Regions from separate parts of the Homo sapiens genome. Here regions 1 and 3 are each linked to region 2. Evidence: promoter capture Hi-C in 16 types of primary human blood cells and fetal thymus (Javierre and others, 2016). All regions are on one chromosome and are shown on one strand. Each heading gives the region's core, a stretch centred on a gene start or on the middle of the fragment in contact. The rest is flanking DNA. Distances are from core to core; before and after follow the strand shown.

Region 1 (3,872 bases), core at 296-2,795, 140 kb after region 2:
GGGCTGATACTTTGGTAATTTTGCATTGATCTACTATAATTCACCATCCAGTGTTTTGCAGGGATCTAACTGGTAAATTAAGTAAGAGACATGATGGGGACCACTATTTTAGTATACTTTAAGTCTCTGAGAGGAGACTCATACTTAGGTCTTCAGTATTAATATTTATTTACTATCTTCGCCAAGGGGGGTGGTTTGGGGGATTTATCTTGGTCTTTCCTATTATAATAGCACTTACTTTACAGATCAAGGAATCAACAAGATGGTCTGCAAGCTGCTAAGCATGTTCATTCTAATTAAATATTCAGCAACTGAAAAATCACCACTGTATAAGTCTGTGGACTTTGAAGGTCCACTGTGATATGAACCAGGCCCAGGATTTCTTTTATCATCTGACTCCGATATGTTTCTACTCTAACAGGAGGCCCTTAATGTTCTTTGTGTTCTTGGGTATCAGGATCAATTCAGATTAGTATTCAAATAACCTTCAAAAGATCCTTGTATTCCTTTTTCCCCAGTTATGGTTACCTAAACACATGGTCATAGGTTCTTTGGTGAAGGACTAGGGGAATAACTATTGCAACAGTTCTCAAAGTGTGGTTTTCAGATGGCTGGGATAACCAAGACCCTTTCAGTGGGTCACCTCGGTAAAAATGAGTTACAATAATAATAATAATGATAATACAGTGATGTTATTTGCCTTTCTACTGATATTTTCACTGATAGTGCAATTGAACTGTTGTTTAAAATTACTGGTGCCTTAGCATGAATGAAGTGCAGAGCACTGTATTAGTTTGCTAGGGCTGTTGTAACAAAGAACCATGGAGTGAGAAGTGGAGGCAATGGAAATCTATTGTGTTACAGTTCTAGAAACTAAAACTCCGAGATCAAGGTGTTGGCAGGGCAATTCTCCCTCTGAAGGCACTACGAAAGGATCTGTTTCAAGCCCTTCTCCCAGCTTCTGGTATTTCCTGGCTTGTGCAGCATACCTCCAATTTTTACATGGTGCTTTCCCTGTGTCCATATCTGTGTCCAATTTGCTCTTTTTATGAAAACACCAATTGTATTGCGTTAGGGGCTCATGCCGCTCAAGTATGACTTTACCTTAGCTAGTTATACTTGTAATGATTTTATTTTCAAATAAGATCACATCTCTGAGGGTTAGGACTTCAACATGTAAATTTTCAGATATACAATTCAACCTATAAGAGGCACCAAGCTGTACCAATAGTCATTGTATTCTTCACTCACTCATGCACACACGTACACATTGCCTAAGAATGTCTTTGATGATTCAGTAAAAATAATTAATGTATTAAATCTGAAGCCTTATATACAGTATCTTTTAAGTATTCTACATGATGGAATTGGAAATACATTTAACACATTTTTGTTGCATACCAAATCATGGTGATTATCCTGAGGAAATGCATTTATATCAAATGTTTGAGTTGCAAGCTGAAGACAATTAGTTAACCATAACTAAAATTATACAAAAATCATTGTAAAACAGAAATTAAACGTTATGCCATCATTAGAGGAAAAAACATGTTAACATCTTAAAAATTATACTTATAAGCAACTAATAGTGATTTCTCATTCATGAGATGCTTTGTTTAGTCAACTAGTTTGTATGAGGTAACCATGCCTCCCCCCTATTCCTCCTTCCCCAACCAAGGAGATGGGTCCGTGTGGATATCTCACATGAGCTGGTCCAATTATACTCCTTTCTCCAAATGCTGGAGACAGCAACTTTAAATGAAATTTCTCTGCACTTTTTTTTTTTTCCTTTTTAACCTAACTCCTCTAAAAGAGTGAAAGAAATGAACACAAAAATATCTCTCCTCTCTCCTCTCCAACCACTTTTTTACATCCAGGGTGGGTAAAATACTTATTAAGAAAAAGAAGGGTTTTATGGGACTTTAAATGAGACCCAATAGAAGAAATTGGCATGTAGAAATTTTTATCATTTTCGTTTTCTTGTTGTGTCCAGTTAGCACTTCACTGTCTTTACTAATGGATACAAAGGCTATGCTCTGTTGCCATCCCATCCTATTGACAAGTGTGATGGTAACAGCATGGGAAATACTCATCAGAAACAATTCTTCCTGCATCAAAGCCTACAGGAAAGAGAGAAATGAGACAATGCAAAAAAAAAAAAAAAAAAAACTGCAATGACAAGAGTATAACGTAGGCCTCCAGTCCTGACTGGAATCTTTCCCTTTGGGTTGATCCCATTGTCCTCACTCATTATGGGTATTACAGGTGAATAATGGTAACACCTGATGGGAATTTCCATCATGGATATCACCCATGATGATGTCCACTGAAAGGGTCTTGGCTATCCCTAGCCATCTGAAAACCACGCTTTGAGAATTACTGCAACATTCATTCCCCTAGGCCATCACTGAAGTACCTAATCCTAACCATACCAAGTGTTAGGAAAGGAACATCATATATTGTAGCATTGCACATCATCAGATTTGGACTGAAACAAATGTCTCTCTAAATTTCATATTCTTTATGTTAAGATTGAAGCACTTTTTCCTTACCTTTCTGCAGTTCCCCCGAAGTGACCCTGTTTCTAAGCAGGCATAGAGCTGTGGTGTGTAAGACAGTTGCAGCAAAGCCAGCTGCACAGATCTCCTGGACCCCGCAGGGGGATTGTGTCACCAACCAAGAATATTGGGGCAATGGCACAGTGACTGTTGGGAGTTCATGTCACTGGGAGGGCCACAATGTGTCTACCATGACCTTATGATAGGCACATTTGAGTAGCAACAAGAGTGTCTATAGAGCTACTTCCTGGTTAGTAATTATTCCAGTTTTGTGTTCATTTCTTTCACTCTTTTAGAGGAGCTAGGTTAAAAAGGAAAAAAAATGTGCAGAGAAATTTCATTTAAAGATGCTGTCTCCAGCATTTGGAGAAAGGAGTATAATTGGACCAGCTCATGTGAGATGCCCACATGGACCCATCTCCTTGGTTGGGGAAGGAGGAATAGGGGGAGGCATGGTTACCTCATACAAACTAGTTGACTAAACAAAGCATCTCATGAATGAGAAATCATTATCAATTGCTTATAAGTATAATTTTCAAGATGTTAACATGTTTTTTCCTCTAATGATGGCATAACTTCTAATTTCTGTTTTACAATGATTTTTGTATAATTTTAGTTATGGTTAACTAATTGTCTTCATGTTGAGTAAGACTGTGGGGAAACACTTGTTTCCATTCTGAGTACATAAAATTGATTTCGCTTATTCTTCTCTAAATGTTTTCTAGCTTCAAGTAGTTCATGCATGGGTGGAAAGCAGATGACACAGAACTATTCAACAATTTTTGCAGAAGGTAATATGCTCCCTTAGTAGTGGCCAGCACTGAGGGATGGAAAGTTGAACTTCAGTAGAATCATTAGCTGATGGCCTGGCTGGAGGCCAGCCTTGTGACTACTTGAAGAACATGTTGATCTGAGTGCTGTGGTACGAAGGACCCTGAATGTCCCAGTCTCTAGTTCTCCAAACAAGCCATACTCTTGCTTACCTCTGAACCTTTGCTAAGGTGGAGTGCTGGAAGGAGCGTGGATTTAATGACCTTTCAGGTCTGCGTTAAAGTCCTGCTTCTTTCTGCATCTGGTTATGTGATCATTATTTGACTGTCAAATATAAGGGTTAAAGTACCACATAAGAGACAGGTGACACCAAAACAGGAGAGGAGAGATATTAATTGCAGGGTGTAGCAAAAACAAACTTCATCCACATAAAGTTTTGCCCCTCTGCAACTGATTCTGCTTATGCTATAGTGATGAGATCTCTGACACTCACCTTTGTTACAGGTGAGTAGTGACAGATACTTCGGCAGAATAAGTACCTCT
Region 2 (3,998 bases), core at 710-3,209:
TAACACATTTTATTCCCAGCCGTGCCAATAAGTTGTTTTGAGGCCACAGGCCATTTAGCCCTTCTGTGGTTTAGTTTTGGCTATGTCATTGAGCAGATATTAAAATAAATGATCTCCAAGAATTTTTGATGACATGAGAAAAAGCTAATGTCAATATAATATAAACAGATACAGACTTGAGTAAGAAACTTTCCCAGTATCACTGGACTAGTAATTGCACAACAGAGACTTAACCCTATGTCTATCTGTATCCTAAGCGAGTGTGAATTTTAACTTTAACTTCTCTCTGCTCACTGCAACCTCTGCCTCCTGGGTTCAAGCGATTCTCATGCCTCAGCCTCCCAAGTAGCTGGGACTACAGATGAGTGCCATCACACCTGGCTAATTTTTTTTTTTTTTTTTAAGTAGAGATGGAGTTTGGAGTTTTGTCATGTTGCCCAGGCTGGTCTCGAACTCCTGAGCTCAGGCAATCTGCCCGCCTCGGCCTCCCAGTGTCCTAAGATTACAGACATGAGCCACTACTCCCGGCCAACTTTCACTTCTATGTAGTGGAAAACCAGAATATTATCTGTATTTTAAATGATGTATTCTCACTAATTTTCCGACACCTGGTGAAACATTAGACAGAAGAGAAGACATTTTTGTTTTGGTCTTCCCATTGTCACAGCTCATACCCTTAAGTGTTCCATGCCCTCAAGGATCTGGTTTCACTGTCTTCATCAAATTAATTAACTGGAAAAAAAAGCTTGAGAAGGGGAAGGGGGGAAATATTTATAATGTTTGGCAAGAAGGAAGATGAAACTGCTAACTGAGAAAAAAAATGCATGCTGTTTAATCTTTTTCCTGTTTGCAATGTTTTCTTCCCCTTCCTGTACAGTTTTGCCTTGGGGCAGAAAATTCTCAGCACATAGAAGATTTTTCCCTCTCTCAGACATAACTTAAAAGCATAGTAACATAGTAACTAGCAACAGTAAGGAAGAGGTTTTTTTGTTGTTGTTGTTGTTTTTTTTTTTTGGTTAGGGGGAGTCTGAATTCCAGATGTGTGGCAACTAAGAGATGGGTGATTATTTGTAATTTGGTTAAAATGATCAGTCTAATTTTCCAAAGGTGAAACTGAATGGCAATAAGTACTGAGTTCTGATAAACAGAATGCCCTCACCCCCAACAAGGTAGATACCTATGTCCGAATTACCGAAACCTGTGAATGTTACCTTGTGTGGCAAAAAGGACTTTGCAGATGTGATTAAATTAAGATCTTGAAATTAGATCATGTTGGATTATTTGGGTGGACCAAAAATAATCACAAGGTCTTTATAAAAGGGAGGCATAAGGGTCACAGTCAGAGAAGATGTGACAGTGGACCAGAGGTCCGAATGATGTAGCTGCAAGCCAAGAAATGCAGGCATTCTCAAATCGCTGGAAAAGGCAGGGAGCAAATTCTGCCCGAGCCTCCAGATGGAGTGCAGCCCTTCCAACACCTTGATTTTAGTCCCCTAAGATCCATTTCAGACTTCTGATCACCAGAACTGTAAGATAATAAATGTTGTGTTGTGTTAAGCCACTGAGTTTGTGGTAATTTCTTACAGTAGCAATAGGAAACTAATACACATATGATGTTTACAGGGTTGTGTGTTGACTCCCATTATAGACAGGAATTTCACACAATAATTTTCAAGAAAACATATTGTATTCCAGACTCAAATACTAAGGCCGTAAAGCTCTTCAACCTGGAGAAAGCCTCTAAAAGTCATCATAATTGGGAAATTTACAAGGATGGGCCAAAGTAGATCAATATTCTGTTTTACTTTTTGGTGCAAGTTTAGACAAATCTGTTTATCTTGGACACGTTCAATGCCTTACTGTAAAGTTTGTCTGTGTACAGCAGAAGTGAGAGGAGAACCAATGAGCTGAGAGATAATTCAATCAATCTGCTTCCTCCGTCTTTGCTTCAGGGCTTCATACAGGAAATCTATTGCTGTGTCAAGTTCCAGAGAAAAGCTTCTGTTCGTCCAAGTTACTAACCAGGCTAAACCACATAGACGTGAAGGAAGGGGCTAGAAGGAAGGGAGTGCCCCACTGTTGATGGGGTAAGAGGATCCTGTACTGAGAAGTTGACCAGAGAGGGTCTCACCATGCGCACAGTTCCTTCTGTACCTGTGTGGAGGAAAAGTACTGAGTGAAGGGCAGAAAAAGAGAAAACAGAAATGCTCTGCCCTTGGAGAACTGCTAACCTAGGGCTACTGTTGATTTTGACTATCTTCTTAGTGGCCGGTAAGTTTGAATTCTCTTTGGGAGAACAGTGAGAAACCTGGTCTCAGCTCTTCCTGAGTTTATTTTTTGTCTTTCTTCTGGGGCAATACAAATCAATTGCAATAATAAATATAGGGGGTTGCTAAATATGGGTTACTCCCATATCTAGTTTACTTTATTATCCTTTTTTCCGGTGTCTTGCTTGTTGTACTTTGTATCCTACTACAATATACAGATCTCTATAATTTGTCTTACTGTCCATTTCCTTATTTCCTCCTGTTTTTTGAACAAGGCAGGATAAATCAAATACATACTAGCAGCAATCAAAGTCAGTTAGGTTCTCTTTATCTTATTCTCTTCCCCAACCCCCTTTTTTGAGACAGGGTCTTGCTCTGTTGCCCAGGCTGGAGTGCAGTGGTGCAATCGTAGCTCACTGCAGCCTGTAACTCCAGGTCTCAAGCAGTCCTCCCACTCAGCCTCCTGAGTGTCTAGGACTACAGATATGCGCCACTATGCTTGGCTAATTTTTAAAATTTTTGGTAGAGATAGAGTCTTGCTATATTGTCCATGCTGGTCTTGAGCTCCTGTCTTCAAGCAATTCTCCCACCTCAGACTCCCAAAGCATTGGGATTACAGGCATGAGCCACTGCACCCAGCCTCTTCTCTCTTAATTTTTTTTTTTAAGATAAGAACGCTAACTCATTTAGGTCCACATTGCCAGTGGCATAGATTAGGACAGTTTATTGCTTTCTGTCACTTTCGATGATTAGGCACTTCAAAAATATAATATGCCTACAGTTACAGTGGTGCGTCTGTGATGTATGTCTGTATTTATCTTCAAGATGTGTGGGCTGTAAGAGACACTACGAGTTAGAGAACAGACTCTTCAACATCTAGGTTCCTATAGAAGTTATAGAGAACTTGGGCCACTGTGGGGGTGTCCTGGTTTCACTGTAGAAGGTTGGTAGGAGTTGGTGTGGGAGGGAGTTTTCAGGTTTCACTTTTGGTAGACAGAGCAGCTGCAAGGGAAGAGTGTAGTTGGTTTTAAATGTTATAATTTGATAATTGAAAGAAGAAAAGGTATTTTTCCTCATTTCTGAATGACTTTAAAATGCTGCTTATCTTCCACAAAAAATCTTCTTTCCACATGTTAATCTTACTAGTGAACACATGCAAAATAACTACACTCTTTGACTGCACCTTTCTATTGAGAATTTTCACATGCTTTTTTCCCTTTGATCTGCACAGCAACCCAGTGAAGTAGACATGGAAGACACCTCTCCATTTTACAAAGGTAGAAATGGAGGCGTAGAGAGGTGAAATGATTTGGCCAAGGTTAGATATGACTAGTATGTGCCAGAATCACAATCAGTAATGATATACATCAGTAAGCACCACTAAACATTTGAGTGGGCAATTTTCCTCATTATTTAACCATTGTGCTTTTCACTGAAGAGCATCAGTGAAAAAAGTCAAGCCAATACTTAGTTTTAGCCTTAATAGACTGTTACTCACCTAAAAAGTCAAGTGATCTGAATCTTTCAGTAGTTCAGATCTTGTTGTAGAAAGCTCTTATAGCAACTTGTGTAGGACCCAGCTTGGCTGGGGCAGCCAGATAGGCAAGGAGCTGTTTATGTCAAATTGCACTGTTACTCCTGGGAAAAGGAAAAAAAATGATTAAAACATAATTTGTAATTTTCAATTTTAAAGGTTGAAAGGTTTAAATTTTAAAACTATTTCTGAACACA
Region 3 (3,482 bases), core at 956-3,455, 180 kb after region 2:
ATTTTGCATATTTTAAATTTTATATAAATGGTTTCATATGTGTTCATTCTCCTGAAATTTATAGGTTTTGCTTCTTCTCATCATGTCCGAAGTATTTATCCATGTTACTGTGTGTAGCTGTTCTTCTTTCATTTTCATTGCTAAATAATATTCCATTGTTTGAATATATCACCATTCGTTTAGATATTCTACCATTGATGGATATTCTCCACAATTTTTCTATGATACATAATGCTGCTAATCCTACATGTCTTATTATGTATATATCAAGAGTTTGTCTTGTAAATATAGCTATATTTACTAAAATTGAGTTTTCTTTCTGAACAATTTTATTTCAAGGATTATCTCTGTAAAAAACTCTTGAGGCTGGGCACAGTGGCTCATGCCTGTAATCCCAGCACTTTGGAAGGCTGAGGCAGGTGGATCACCTGAGGTCAGGAGTTTGAGCCCAGCCTGACCTGATTAACATGGTGAAACCCTGTCTCTACTACAAATACAAAATTAGCCAGGTGTGGTGGTGCATGCCTGTAATCCCAGCTACTTGGGAGGCTGAGGCAGGAGAATCGCTTGAACCTGGGAGGCGGAGGTTGCAGTGAGTGAAGATGGAGCCATTGCACTCCAGCTTGGGCAACAAGAATGAAACTCCTTCTCAAAAACAAAAACAAAAACAAAACAAAACAAAACAACAACAAAAAAACTCTTAACATGTACATAGTGAGATGTAAAATGTCGTAACTCCCAGTTCTCCTAATTGGCTGTGTCAATTTACACTTTAATTTTATTTTGTAGAGACAGAACCTTGCTGTGTCACCCAGTCTGGTCTCACACTCCTGGCCTCAAGCAATCTTCCTTCTTTGGTCTCCCAAAGCACTGGGATTACAGGCATGAGCCATAGTCCCTGGCCTACACTTTAATGGTTTTATTTTTTAATATCATCTCCAATTTGGTTTTGTTAGACTTTTTATCTTTTGCTACTCTGAAGGACCGAAAGAGTATCTCATGATTTTAAAATACATATCTTTGATTATTAGTCAGGTTGAGTGGCTTTTCATTTGTTCATAAGCCATTTTTTTCTTGTGCTATCATTTGTCATTGTTCATATTTATGTTTCCTATTGATTTGTGGGTGTTCTTTATATATTCAGGCTATAATTTTTTTGTCTATGTATGCATTGCAAGTAACTTCCCCTATCTGTAATTGTTTTTGTATCTTGACTTTAGCATTAGCAATGCCAAGTAGACAAAACAAATCACTATTTTACAATTTTTGGTGCTATCGTTTTTACTTTTCAAGAACATTACAATGGGATTTGTATGAAGACTATTGTGATTTAAAATTATCAATGTCACTGGTACTTGTAGTGAAACTTCCATAGAGTTCTCCATTTCAGATAAATTTGAACTTCCATGTAATTTTCTTTTAGGACAAAATAATCATGTAATCAGCTCAAGCGAAGTTTTTACATGTGAATAATTTGGACATAATTTTATGTGACTTTTTTTCTCTTGTTTCAGAAGATGAGAAGAATTGTGTTTTTAGCAAAGCATTTAGATATCAGTATGTTTTAAAACAAATGTAACCAGCTAAAAACTGGAATGTGCTTGTTGGGGTGAGTTCCCTTCAAAGCAAAGATCAAAATTAAAGTTGTCCTCTAATTTACAAGGACAGTTCTTCACAACTTGGTTCTTGGTCATCTCGTGCTAACTACCATCTATCCTGTGTGGATAATTTAGCCTTTCCCTAGTGTAAAATTGAGAAGCAATATAGCATAGTGGCTAAGGCTTTGTGGTCAGAAAGCTCCATCATTTTCCACAGGTTCTTTTTGATCAAATTACTTAAAATATTTAAACCCCAGTTTCTGAATCTGAAAATATGACAAATGCTGCCTTTGTCATGAGCCTTTCTTGGTGGTTAAATTAGATGACATCTGTATTGTACCTGCACATTCAATTAACAGTAGTTACTATTACATGGTTGTAATGAAACCCTCATCCAATTGAAAATAAGCTTTCAAAATGCTATAGCTTCTCAGAAGAAGCACGCTTCATTTTATTCTCTTTAGAGGCACTTGTTGAGGACTAAGGATTTCTCTAAAGAAGGTACAGTTCTGAGAAAGGGAATGAAAGTTAACTTTTTCTTTCTTGATCTTCAAATGCAACCATTGGTTTTGTTGGGCAACTCAGCTACACAAGAACATAGTGTGTTAGGTTGGGCCTCAAAGGCCAACAGAACCTGAAAATATGACCCATTCATATTCGGATGATAGAGACCTAGCCCATGTTGCCCCTGGCAGAACATTTTGTTTGGCCACAATGTTTTTCAAAGCTACAGAACACTCTAGTTGTTCTGTTGTATACAATGTACTTATTCTTTGGCTTTATCCTGCTCTATATTGAAGCTTATTTGTGTATCCCATGGACACCTCTAATACACACACACAGAAACACACCCTTTGCACACACTAATGCTTAAATCGAACTAATGACCTATACACAGAAAGCAACTCTTGGTAACATAATTAAGAGAGACTGGTTTAGACTTCCTTTGCCAATTGTGATCTACCGGTTTCTCCCAGAGACACATAATTTGCTTAGAATTTCATAAATACATGTCTGGTTTTTCTAACAGGGATTCAGACTCTCTTAATGTTAGAAAGTTTCAGTCTTAAGCCACCTATGTTAAACTAACAAATAAACCTAAACATGCTTTGGTGAAATATACATCTGAAAAGGCTACAAATGGGTAAAGAGAATCAGAAATCTTAGCTTGGAATCCTCGGGATTCTATATCATTTACTAGCTGTGGGACCTGAAATGAGTCACTTAATCCCTCTGAGCCTCAGTTTACCTCATTTATAAAGTGAGGATGCTAAAAGAAGTATAAAAACAGAGAGTAAAGACTTGGGCTGCTGGTTATTTGATCAAAGTGAATGCAGGAAAATGCCCTATGAAAACTATATAGTTTGCACTTTTCCAGAATATATCTCTTAGTTTGCACATGAAAATCTATATCCTTTTAAAAGACTTCTAACTTGTTATCTTTACAAGGATAACAAGGGATTTCTGCAGAACCCTGCTGATATCACAAGTCTCACAGGCACCGAGGCAGTAGATAAAGGTATCTGGTTCTGAAGGTCATCTCTCAGGTCACCTAGGCCCAGTAAAGAGGGAAACAGAAGCGGCTCCTTGACCTCATTTTCCCTACTCTGGGCCCGTCTGTAAACAAGTGGCTTGAGGGAAGTATGAGGTCTGCTTGTTGCCAGGGGTTCTGTTGCTTCCTCTTAACAGAAAAAGCTCTTTCTGCTATTTTCAAAGGCAGCAGCTTCTGGCAGGAGCCAGGTAGGACAGGGCTGCCTTTGGCTCACTAACATCAGAATCGTTGCTGACAGGCGCCTGAAGGGTAGGGTCTAGGGCAGGAAAATGTCTTCTCAATGTTTACCTCTCAGAGGTCATTTAAGCCCATGTCCTGGGAGGCAGGTCTCA

The links. Contacts are between HindIII fragments. The CHiCAGO score rates a contact against its expected background, and 5 or more counts as called.
Region 1: a fragment that was not itself captured here is called in contact with the fragment with the promoter of CD200R1 in region 2 in 6 of 17 cell types (M1 macrophages, M2 macrophages, M0 macrophages and 3 more); the score reaches 10.9 in M1 macrophages.
Region 3: a fragment that was not itself captured here is called in contact with the fragment with the promoter of CD200R1 in region 2 in 8 of 17 cell types (M1 macrophages, M0 macrophages, M2 macrophages and 5 more); the score reaches 10.9 in M1 macrophages.

Annotation. Positions count from the first base shown.
Region 1 is chr3:112,828,796-112,832,667 of GRCh38, reverse strand. CD200R1L (CD200 receptor 1 like) reads left to right here. Exons shown (of 8, transcript NM_001199215.3): 4 at 3,284-3,349. The coding sequence starts at 3,301. Among named protein-coding and RNA genes, the nearest start is that of CD200R1L, 16 kb to the left of the region's middle. The HindIII fragment of the contact is 5,298 bases long and covers 1-3,872 here.
Region 2 is chr3:112,973,064-112,977,061 of GRCh38, reverse strand. CD200R1 (CD200 receptor 1) reads left to right here and starts at 1,959. Exons shown (of 8, transcript NM_138806.4): 1 at 1,959-2,271. The coding sequence starts at 2,205. The HindIII fragment of the contact is 1,253 bases long and covers 748-2,000 here.
Region 3 is chr3:112,794,702-112,798,183 of GRCh38, reverse strand. No RefSeq gene overlaps it. Among named protein-coding and RNA genes, the nearest start is that of CD200R1L-AS1, 6.0 kb to the left of the region's middle. The HindIII fragment of the contact is 391 bases long and covers 2,010-2,400 here.